2 separate regions of the Homo sapiens genome follow, and region 2 is linked to region 1. Evidence: promoter capture Hi-C in 16 types of primary human blood cells and fetal thymus (Javierre and others, 2016). All regions are on one chromosome and are shown on one strand. The core of a region is centred on a gene start or on the middle of the fragment in contact, and the rest is flanking DNA. Distances in the headings are between cores, read along the strand shown. Region 1 holds the start of ATP13A4-AS1 (ATP13A4 antisense RNA 1). Region 2 overlaps FGF12 (fibroblast growth factor 12).

The links. Contacts are between HindIII fragments. The CHiCAGO score rates a contact against its expected background, and 5 or more counts as called.
Region 2: a contact is called between a fragment that was not itself captured here and the fragment with the promoter of ATP13A4-AS1 in region 1, in 1 of 17 cell types (total B cells). The highest score is 5.0, in total B cells.

The regions. Positions count from the first base shown.
Region 1 is chr3:193,549,790-193,555,796 of GRCh38, forward strand. ATP13A4-AS1 (ATP13A4 antisense RNA 1) reads left to right here and starts at 3,424. Exons shown (of 2, transcript NR_121666.1): 1 at 3,424-3,498; 2 at 4,981-5,795. ATP13A4 (ATPase 13A4) reads right to left here and starts at 5,106. Exons shown (of 30, transcript NM_032279.4): 1 at 4,951-5,106. The coding sequence starts at 5,010. The HindIII fragment of the contact is 3,457 bases long and covers 2,062-5,518 here.
Region 2 is chr3:192,481,458-192,487,539 of GRCh38, forward strand. The region is part of intron 2 of FGF12 (fibroblast growth factor 12); the gene reads right to left. Among named protein-coding and RNA genes, the nearest start is that of FGF12-AS2, 31 kb to the right of the region's middle. The HindIII fragment of the contact is 5,083 bases long and covers 1,370-6,082 here.

The DNA of each region.
Region 1 (6,007 bases), core at 2,174-4,673:
CCATTGCACTCCAACCCAGACAGAGACCCTTTCTCCAAAAAAAACTAACATGAAAAAGATACATATTTCTAAGTATATGTATATTTTTTAAGAATAGAATTTTTAAATCAATGGAATAATCTTGTTTTGCCATGATGCAAACAAACGGATGATATCCAAAAACAATATTCATGTTGTTTTTCAACATGTAGCGGGGAAAAGGGAAATTATGAGGCAACAATATGTTCAGTGATGTGCTGGTAAGTATTTAACAAATGGCCTTCAGGCGGGGCAGGGTGGAAGTCCCGTTGTAGTATCCACAGATTTCTGTGGCATAAATAGCACCAACATTATTTATTTCAAGCTACCAATGTGATGTCACTGAATTAGGAGTTCGGAAGAAATACAATTGCACCATGCTGTGTAATACCACTACCTAGTATTTCCATGATACAGATAAATTAGGTGCAAATAATCTCAAAAGCACAGATAAGTATGAAGATAGAGCAAAATAGTTAGAAAGTGGTGAATTTTAGGTTTTTTTTTTTTTTTTTTTGAGACGGAGTCTCACTCTATCCCCCAGGCTGGAGTGCACTGATATGATCTCAGCTCACTGCAGCCTCAACCTCCTGGACCAAAGCGAGCTTCCCACCTGAGCCTCTCAAGTAGCTGGGACTACAGGTGGATACCACCACATCCAGATAATTTTTTTGTATTTTTATAGACAGGGTTTCACTATGTTGCCCAGGCTGGTCTGGAACTCCTGGGCTCAAGCAATCTGCACGCCTCAGCCTCCCAAAGTGCCGGGATTACAGGCTTGAGCCATGGCGCGCAGCCTGCATTTTTTATTGACATGTCTGGTGGTAAACTCATGAAGCATATTTACTTCATTCTTTAGATCCTTATTTGCCATTTCAATATTTTTACAATAAACATATGTTACCTTTATAATCAGAAAAGAATTCAAAGGTTTTTTTATTTTTTGTCTTATTTGTTAAGGCCTAGAGAAAAATATCAGGGAACGTTACTTTTTAAAAGTCTCACTGGAACAAAACACTTCCCCAAAAGATTGATTGTGTTAAGGTGTAACTAAAGAGCAATGTTAGAATCAATTAAGCCATGATACCTTCGTTCAGCCATGGTATAAGGAAATGGTTCTAAATTCCTTCAAAATAGAAATACAAAACGTCAGGACTCAAAGAGATTTGTGCTCCCAGACATTCTCATACTCTCACTTTACAAATAAGGAAGCTAAAAAAGGTAGGTGTTTTCCCAACGTATGCACAAGGTAAGTAGAAGATAACCCAGCTCCTCTCCATTTATAAGTGGTCTCTACGGCCTATGAATAAAAGTACATATTCCTGGCCAGGTGCGGTGGCTCATGCCCATAATCCCAGCACTTTGGGAGGCTGAGGCAGGTGGATCACAAGGTCAAGAGATTAAGACCATCCTGGCCAACACGGTGAAACACCATCTCTTCTAAAAATACAAAAAATTAGCCAGGCATGGTGGCATGCAGCTGTAGTCCCAGGTACTCGGGAGGCTGAAGCAGGAGAAACACTTGAACCCAGGAGGCAGAGGTTGCAGTGAGCCGAGATCACGCCACTGCACTCCAGCCTGGCAACAGAGCAAGACTCCGTGTAACAAAAAGAAAAAAAAAAAGTACATATTCCTTTTGGTATAACTGAATGGCAAGAGATGACCTCATTTTTGTGGGATAGTATTTACTCAATTGGTTAATTGCTAAGCCCTTGGCTTTTCCTACCTTTATTTAGATGATAGCAGCTCACACCTCGCCAGAACTGTTTACTTCTCAAAACATGTTTATATGGATTATCTCCACTGATCTTCATGAGAACTCTGTGAGTCTGGTGGGGGTAAGAAGGACCAGTCCTATTTTACAGGTATAAAAACTGAGGCTAGAGCAGGCAAGCGGCTGGCCCAAGGCCGGTGAGAGCCAGGCCTCCCGTCCCGTCCCAGTGCTCTCCCAGAGTTTCCTCCTCGAAGCCTTTCTGAGGCAGTCATTTAGGTGAACCTTCGCTGAAGGCCACTTTCTCACCTTTCCTTCCTTCTCCCTCCAAAAGCTTCTTTCTACCTTTGGGTCCTGTCTCATTTCGCAGTTAAAGATATTATTTTCAGGTCACCTAGGGTTGCTCTTTAGTTCCTGTTTGCTTTTGGTTTGTTACTTGTTTATTTATTTATTTTTATCTATTTACTTATTTTTGAGACAGAGTCTTGCTCTGTTGCCAGGCTGGAGTGCCATGGCGCGATCTTGGCTCACTGCAACCTCTGCCTCCCAGGTTCACGCCATACTCCTGCCTCAGCCTCCCAAGTAGCTGGGACTACAGGTGCACGCCACCCTGCCTAGCTAATTTTTGTGTTTTTAGTAGAGATGGGGTTTCACCATGTTGGCCAGGATGGTCTCAATCTCTTGACTTGGTGATCCGCCCGCCTCGGCCTCCCAAAGTGCTGGGATTACAGGCACGAGCCACCATGCCCAGCCTGTTTTTGGTTTTTTAACTCCAAAATGGAAGATAATCCCAGGCATCTTTAGGCCTCAGAATATTCTTCTTTATTTGACATGAGGTCTAAACCCTAGCATGTTGTTTTCTCTTGAAATTTGAAGTAATTTCTACCACAAGAGAAATTACGTTTGCAAAGGTTCAAGTAAAGTATATTATAAAGCATGAAACTAAACACTTTGGTGTGACACATTTCTGGACTTGGAAGTCAGAGAAGACAGACTTATTTAAGCTACTCGAATTATCTAGAAGAAAAAAGAAACTCAAATTATCTATAACAGAACAGATGCTGGGGAATCTAAGAAGACTGGATGTTGATGTTCTCCTTAGCTTTGTTTTATGAAGGAAGGGAATGTGTTCTGTTAAGAGTGGAATGTTCTCCGGAAGAACTGGAAAAGGTATCAGTGGGCTATGTTCAGGTCCAGAGACAAAAGAGCTGTCAACTTAAACTAACCTGTGCGGTGCCTCAGCTCCTGGACTTACTGGTTGATGCAACCTTAGGGAAAGCCTGTGTGCATCAATTTCCTCATCTTTAAAGTTAGAATCACAGCATCTACCTCATAGGGTTGTGAGGAAAACTAAATTAGCTAGTGGCCAAGAAAATGCTGTGTATACTAAAAATCACTACAAAATATGTAGACTATATATATAGCTTGATAATTTTTAAAGTTTACTGCTCTGGGCAAGGGATGGAGGAGTGAGTTAAAAAGGAACACAGTGTCAGACACAGCAACAGGCAGGTGGCCAGGTTTCTGTAGGCAGAAGAGGATGGAGAGCTCAGGAGTGCATACTAATTGCTGCACCTCTGCTGAGACTACTGGCCAAATGGCTGCCTACCAGAAAACACAGTGTCCCTTTCCATATTAAAGGGCCTCTCCTAACTGGGCTTTCAGCTGCATACAAAACTACGTGGAGTTCTCCATGCATCTGATGGTGCCATTATGAAGATGAACTGTTAACTAAATTGCTTTGGTGGAATATGTATGCTAGGGAAGAGGTAACAGTTTCCCTACAACCATGAATGTCTTCTGGAAAATAAATGATTCTTATTGAGACTTGAAAGACAAATTGTCTGAGAGCAGAAAGGGGTTTACTGGAAAAGAGTGAGTGTATTTCTAAATGAGAGAGAAAAAAAATGTTTCAGAGGAAGGAGCCCCTGCCTTCTGGTGAAGAGTATTCAAGATGAAGATAAACTTTTCAACTTAATATCGAGAGTAATGAGATATTCACTTCCTAAAGAAAACTCTTTAAAGAAACAAAGATGATATCCAATGTGGGCTAGCAAGCCATTTCTGGTGACATTTGTGGAGGGGCTGAAGGCAATTCATTTGGCAGTCAAATCTGAATGAAGTAAAGGATATGGTTAAGAAAGGCACCTGAATTAATGTACATTTTACTTCTTTATAATTTTTTCAGCTTTGATAGCAGAAGGGATCTACTCTTGAAAGTCCAAAAAATGTTGTTGCTATAGGAACAGGTAAGCAGATTAGACTTGAAAGACCAGTTTAGGAACAAAGAATGTAATAGTCAGGGCTAAAGCAATTAACCAAGAAAACATTTTAAGTAAATATCTTTCAGGTTTGTTATTTACATATTAATTCCAGGAAGATTAAATGCTATTATGGAATGAGAGCGTCACATTTTAACATTTTAATTACATCATTACTGGCATAAAAGACTATGCTTACACAATTAGCAGAAAGATCTTATTAAACAGAAGTACATATTTCTAACTCTCTCTTGATTATATTGTAATTGAGAAATACAGTTTTAAATTCATCCTGAGCATGAAAGTCATCTTTGATTTTCCTATAGTTCTCAAGATAGAAGCACATCTAAAATCAAAGAGATACTGAACTACCGAAAGTTTTCTGTAACCAATCTCTATAATGAGGAAGCCACAAAAGTAAAATTCTAGAAGAAAACAGAAATGTGTGTAGGCTGATAATTGTTAATATTGCATGTCTTCCCTGTCCAACAGACTCGGTGAACAAGACATTTGAGAAGAGAAGGTCAAAGACCCAGCTGCACTTCTGCTTCACTGCTGAACTTCTGCTTCTTCCTATCAGGGAATACACTGCTCCTCACATTAGGGATTTCCTAAAATTGTTAGGTGTTTTGAACAGAACTGGCTATACCAATGAGGCTCAAACAAGAATCATAAAGTGCATGGTGCTTCTCTCCCTCTCTGTTTTCTTTAAAAAGAAAACATTCTTGACAAGATGAATACAATATTTTCATTCTAGCAAATTTCTGCTGTCAGAGGTTATATTTACAGGATAGAGAGATTTCTCAAACATGACCTTTTCTCGTGTAATACCAGAGTGAAATTTTAGAAAAGTCTGTGTGTGTGTGATGCGTGCGTGTGTGTGTGTGTGTGTGTGTGTGTGTGTGTGTCTCGCAGGCTGAGAAGTGGGATGGGAAGAAGGGAATGTGGCTAGAATCTTACCATCTCATTCTCTTCTCCTTCATTGAGCAGAGCGTGCTGGCCCTTCTCAAAGTGTCCCATGAAAAAGTTATTCCACACCTCCTCCCTGACCTTGTCGTGCAGACGCTTCCAGGATGAACTCCAACTCGCCGAGCCACCGCAGCTCCTCAGCTGACTAAAAGAGTTAATGATCCTCCAGGTTAAAACTCCTCCTTGAGCACACACCTTCTCTCAACAAATGACAATACTTGGCAAACTGAACTCCTCCCACGAGTCGCCCTCTGCTAGGAGGAATTGCTGGCTGCTCCCTGCTTATTGCATTCTCTCAGAGCAGCTGTCTCAAAGGAGGCTGCTCCCATGCCGATCTTTTTGTGCCCAACTTACAGGGAAAGAACTCATTGCCTGCCCAGTGCCTGCCAGCCTCAGACTTCTGACTGCAAATCCAACAGGACAATACAGAGTTGGCAGGACCCTTCTCAGGAGTGAGGAGCGGGTGCAAGAACTCCCAGGTCACTGCTTTATTCAGAGGACCTAAGGAATTGGGTTGAGCGGAAGCGCACAGAGCTGCAGATTTTCTTTGATGAATGAAAGCTTCAATCCACAGGTTTCTAATAGTACTCTCATTCATTTTGCTTACAAAAGGTACAGATTATCACTAATCCTCTTCAAAAGGTATTTGTAATCACATTTCCTTGTATATGCAAAAAAAATTCTATTTAAAGTGTATGTGAAATTAAGTTTACTTTTTTGAAACACATGTAGAAAAAGAACAAAGGTATCATCAAACTAGTCTATGTAGTCTCCTTTCACTAAAATATTGATGGTTCAACACTTAAGGAAGTCTAGAAATAAAATATTCAAATGACTATATGGCCAGACTCTTTTTTAATTTGTTTACACATTTATTCAATAAACAGTGCCTGAGCACAGGGACTACCTAAAAAAGTTAAGTCATATTTGCTACCCTCGTGTTGATGTAAGGATTCAAACATCCAAACAAATATGATAGAAAGTGGATTGTTATTATAAGAGATGGAACAGAAGTCTAAGAAAACTGTCAGAAGTCCCAATGTGGTGT
Region 2 (6,082 bases), core at 2,661-5,160, 1.1 Mb before region 1:
TCCACATCTATAAAGGTAATCCTATGCATCTTGTTTGTTTAAGATAAACTAGGTCTATACCAATCAATTAATAATAATTCTCTGGCCACAGAGATTTCATGAATGTTGTTCAGTGGCATCCACACTATCCTGCTGAGTAGTGTAAGTTTGCTTCAGGCAGCCTCCTATCCATGGCCACAAGAGAAACCAATCTAAGAATGAAGCCAGTAACACTGTAAATGGCAGAGCGAAAAGTGAAGAAAAATCTAGTTCTTGATGAAAGAGTTGTACCACTCGACCAGCCCACCCTGAAGTTCGGTCTACGTCTGGATTTTCCAATAAAATGAATCACGTTATCCCCTGGTGTTTAAGCCAGGCTGAGTCATATTTTCTGAAATTCTGCCCAAAAGTATCCTAACCACTATGCAACATGTATTGCTCAATTGTTCACAGAGCCTATAGTCAGAGAATAATAAACTGAACCTTAAAGACTGCTGGGTATTCAAGCATATTTTTATTTGTCTAAATATGAAGAAGTAAAGAAGAGTCACATGAAGAAGATAAGATGATTTTTAGGAATAGTAACTAATGGGGACTCCTGGGCCCAATGTTTGCTACTATGTCATTATCACAAGCCAACCTTATCACTGCTGAGAATGGTAAGAACATTGCACCTCATTATTGGGATCACTATGAGTTTCCAAGTTTGAGTTTTGAACCTCAATCATAGAAGAGATTGCAACCTTAGTGTTTTAGAATTTGAAAAGAACTAAGCAAAATGTGTATGAGAAAAAATATAAACATATTCATATATTATTTAAGATTATTTTATTAAATGATAACCTAAGCTTTTACTGGAAAACTAAAAAGTCAACAGAGAAGAGAACAGGTACCGTGGTAAAGAAAAACAGTATGAGCCGGACGTGGTGGCTCATGCCTGTAATCCTAGCACTTTGGGAGGCCAAGGCAGGAAGATCGCTTGAGGTCAGGGGTTCGAGACCAGCCTGACCAACATGGAGACAACCTGTCTGTAATATAAATACAAAAATTAGCTGGACGTGGTGGTACATGCCTGTAATCCCAGCTACTCAGGAGGCTGAGGCATGAGAATGACTTGAAACTGGGAGGTGGATGTTGCAATGAGCCAAGATCGCATCAGTGCACGCCAGCCTGGGCAACAAAACGGGATTCCGTCTCAAAAAACAAAAAACAAAAAAAGAACAGCATGGAGTATGAATCTTGAGACATGGTTAAATTCCTCTCTGCCTTTTAGCTGTGTGATCTTGTGCTGTTTACTTAAACTTTCTGAGGCACTCCCTTCAGCAGTAAAACAAAATAATAATAAAATTTTCAAAAGCTATTAAAAGGATGATATTAGATAATATAAAAAAGCTTAATAAAATATTTATTATTCACATATGATTTCCACAAAATGAATAGTATTTAACCTAGTTGGAAAGATAAAATGTGCATGGTAAAACACTGATTCATTTCCTTGTTCGAGGCTGCCAACTTTCCATTGTCTGAAGAATAAAGTCCAAATATTTTAGAATAGAATTTATAGTCTTCTACAACTTACAACCTGGCTTCAATATATGTTTCCAGCTTCACCTCCTACTACTCATCTTTACAAGTTCTGCATGCCAGTAACCCTGCCGTCCAGCATTCCTAGACACCTCATTCTCAGCACCCCTTATGTTAGCCACTTACATATCTTGGCTCTTGTTATTCCTCCTTGAAGAATACTCCTTCTCTGCCTACCTAACATCTACCTATGTCTTTTAATACATTATTACTATTTACAATTTTTTTAATGGACTACTATACCTAAAGCCCAGTTCAAATGCCCCCTCTTTCCTGGGGATTCATATACCACCACTAGCTGTCATCCTTCATTCTCTAAACTTCCACAGCCCTTGATTTGTAACTTGCTTGCTCTTAAAAGCGAAACCAAACAAAATGAAAACGTATTATACAACAGCCACACGTAAAAAAAATGTCTAATGTCTCTTACTGAAGTGTAAAGGCTTTATGAACAGAATTATGCCTGATACGGTTTTATTTCCTCAAGATGCTAAAATGAGATAATTCACAAATATTATAGTAAATATCAGTTCAATAAATAAACGAAAATAATAGAAGGAGAAAATATGGTATAGGGGAATTCGTGTTACAAGCTATTTGTGTAAATGAGAGAAGAATTCAAAGCAGAGAATGATCATTCCAGCATGAATTGCCAAGTAGAAGTGTAGCTGAGGTGGAGTTTGAAGGAAGGTTACTATTTGGATGCATTAAAAGGAAGTGGAAAGGCGTTCCAGCTAGAAAAAATATATAAGCAGTACCCTAGAAGAAAAAAAATGTATTTTATTTGTGGTAAAGGTAGAGAAGTAACCCATCTAACAATCACATGGGCTGTGCCACACATCAATAGAAAATAAAAATTGCTGTAAGGTTTAACAGGCGTATTGCTGTACATATGAAGGAGACATTATGCTCTTGAGAAGTCACTTGTGGCATAATATACATTATAAAGAACAAATGTTAATTATATGTGACTGATCAATATAAAAAAAATTGTAGGATATTAAAGGTAAATCCAAGAATTTGAGCCTGAAAGATTGGGGAACTGATTTTATCCCTGATAGCAATGAAGACTAGCCACAGAGGCCCAGTTAAGTAGATGAAATAGCAAACTCTATTTTGGTCTTGAATCAAAGAGAAGGGCACTTTGGGGACAGGTGATACTGTTAAAGCCAGTGTTTTTCTGAGAGAGTACTCTCTATTATCACCACTTAGGTGCAAAGATTCTGATCTCTATGCAAAAGAACACTCAACAACTGGATGCTCTTTTAATCCAATAGAGATCCTTCCATTTTCCTAAAAAAAAAAAAAAAAAAAAAAAGAACATCAATTTGTATTAATCTAGAGCTTGCTCTAGAACCTGATATAAACATAGACTCTGAAATTCCACACAGACCCTTCAGTCAGTGCATGATAAAATATGCTGATTACAGCTCGCATATCCCCACAAAAAGCAAAATACAGCCTGTTGTTCTACCTTATTATTCTATTATTGACATATTCATAATATACAGCAGTTAACTTTTAGGATGTGAATATTTCTGTAAGAGGGAATTATCATTTAAACTGTTGCCAAAGTGAATGATCGGCTGTGAGAGGTAGTATAGGAGAAGAGCAGGTTTCTCTGGGTGAAAAGAGAGGACAGTTGCCATAAAGGTGGGCGGACCTTATGCACTCTCCCAGGCTGAATCGACAGGCCCACATTGCACAGGCCCAAAGGGCACTATTTCCATTGTATTTATATGAAATGTAATTTCTTGAAACACAATTCCAGAAAGCCATGTGAATGGTGCTCCCGGAACTGTGCAACTTGTTGGCTATTTTCTAGACCAGAGCTCAGTTCAAAGACAACAATGCATTTTCTAGGAGTTTCATCTCTTTATTTGTATTTTTAATTTAAGTCTACATGTTTCAAGATTGGTCTACAGCCCCACCCTCCATAATCAATGCCTGGATTTTAAATTTTATATGTGTACACATAAATTTTAAAATTTTAAATTTTATATGTGTACACATAAATTTTAAAATTTTAAATTTTATATGTGTACACATAAATTTTAAAATTTTAAATTTTATATGTATACACATAAACATCCATCTATCTGTATGTATTATATCTATAAACAGGTGTGCATGTGTGCATAAGTATGTTTATCTATTATTTAGAAGTAGACATATTCTAAGGCATCTGAGCAATGACTTTATTGACTTTATGGAGACTAATTATTGCCACAAAATTTTGAAACGAATGTTTCTGGTTTGTATTATATGTTTCACTCCAATAAAGTTAAGATTAAATCACTGTGAATTGAAGAAATAATTGTTTGAGGTAGTTCAAATTGAGAAAATGGAGTAATCACCAGACTTTTGAAAAGTTAAATATTAATGCTTCGACAGTAAGAAGACATTTTACTTAGCAGGCATACGTCTTTCAGAAATCCCAGCTCTAGGAATACCATTGTTAGAATAATTCATTCATAGTAAGACTAAATAGCAAATATTCAACAAGAAATTTATCTGTTCCCAATTCCAGCAATTAGTTGATAAAACATTTTAATGTAGTTTTCAGTAATGCTGTCTTATTAACTGTCTTCCAAAATTTTTTTTAGTGATATCATTACATTTAGCATTTTAGGATTTCTAGCAGGCAAACATTTAGTTAAGTATGAAGTCTAATTACCCTTAAGTAAAAAAACCAAGAAATTAGTAATATAATTTTATTCAACATACTTATGTGAACAGATTCTCTGTATAAGTATTATTGAAATAAAAGCATAGAAACATTAAATATATAACTGCATCTGAACTGAGATAATTTTATGTCATTAAACATTAAATTAATATTGCTAATTTAGATTGAATTGTCTCTGTATAGACTTGTTTATAATTTAATTTGTAAATTATCTAGTTTCATCATTTTGTACGCACTATAAACAAGAGAATTTTATGCCATATACGTGCATATATAATACGTAGTAAAAATAACCTAAGTTGACAGTGGATGGCCATTAATACGGTTTTTCATTATAAAAAGTGAGTCCTTTACCTAAGTTCGAGGAACACTGCTCCAGAAGATCTAGGTCCAAAGAATACAGCACCAAACCAACACATCCAGGACATAAGCCTTTCAAGTCCTTTTATGCAGTGATCCATCCATTCATATTTATTGAATGCCTCCTGTGTGTTAGACACTGGAGTTATATATCAATGAGCAAGACAGACGTTTCTTATCCTCAAGTAGTTTACACTCAAATGAGTGAGACAGATAATTAACATGAAAGCAAATAGTTTTTTTTTTAATTCAAATTGCATTCAGTGTATGAATGGTCCTGTGGCAAACAGAGTAACTGGGAGGACCAGTTGGTATTAAATAATCATCCGTGGGAGCCTCTTGGAGAGCATATTGCTTCAGATGAGGCCTTGATGAAAGAATGAGCCATGTAAAAACAAAGAGTGAACACGGATGGCAAGGGGAAATGTTGCAGAAGAGGGAACAAAAAATTAAAAGCCTCTAGTGTCGGAAAAGTTTGGCATAGCCTAGGAAGTAAAAGAAGAATACTGTGGCTCGAAAATTGTGAGCAGGAGGAAGAAGAGCATGAGACAAGGTCACAGAGGTAAGCAAGACACCCTGTTCAGGGCCTTGAAGGCCATGTTAAAGTGTTCTTCTTTCATTCTGAGTGGAATGGGAAGACATTGAGGAGTACAAGCAGTAGACAAACATGATATAATTTATATTTTGAGAACATCAGGCTACAGTGGGTAAGATGGCTAGATGTGTCATGAATAAACACTGAACACTCATAGATGGACAAGGATACGACCTCTTTTATTCAGAGCCAAAACTGTCTTAAAAGGAACTAGAGCCAAGACTGTGTTTACAAGTGTGTTTTATATGTTTTAATTTGAGTTGCCAAAATTATTAAAATCATGAGATTTCACTTAAAATATCTGGATTTCCTCCTGCATCTTTGGATTTGTTTTACTATTATTATTATTATTATTTTCTGGAAGATCCAGTAACATTGAGCCTGCAGTCCTGCCTAGAACCAACTGGCTGGAGCTGAGTAGTAGCTGGTTAATTTCCCCATTTGGAAAGTGCTGTGATTTCATATTTGTCACATTTCTTCCAAATCCCCTACTGCCTAAGAACTAGCCTACCTCATTCACTTTTCTTACTTGTTGGCTACAGCTAGATGCATTTATTATTTTCTACTTCCTCATAGCAACCATAGTAACTAATAACAATCACAGCCCTTGGGAGCTGTTCCTAGTGCCGCTTCGAAACCTTGGTAAAGACTATGCCAACTTGATCTTTTTTTTCTAAACCTGATCTTAATTCACTTATTAGTCCCAGATGACTTTGTCCGTTGTTTCTCCAAGACCACACCTAGGCATGAAACATCAACTTGTCCTATCTCATTGCTCATCCAAGCCTAGTGCTTAGCTTCAGTTCTGTGAGCCATTATCCCAGGTCTCAAGCTCGCCTGTTCGATCATGCTTGTTTCTGAAGACATTCACACAG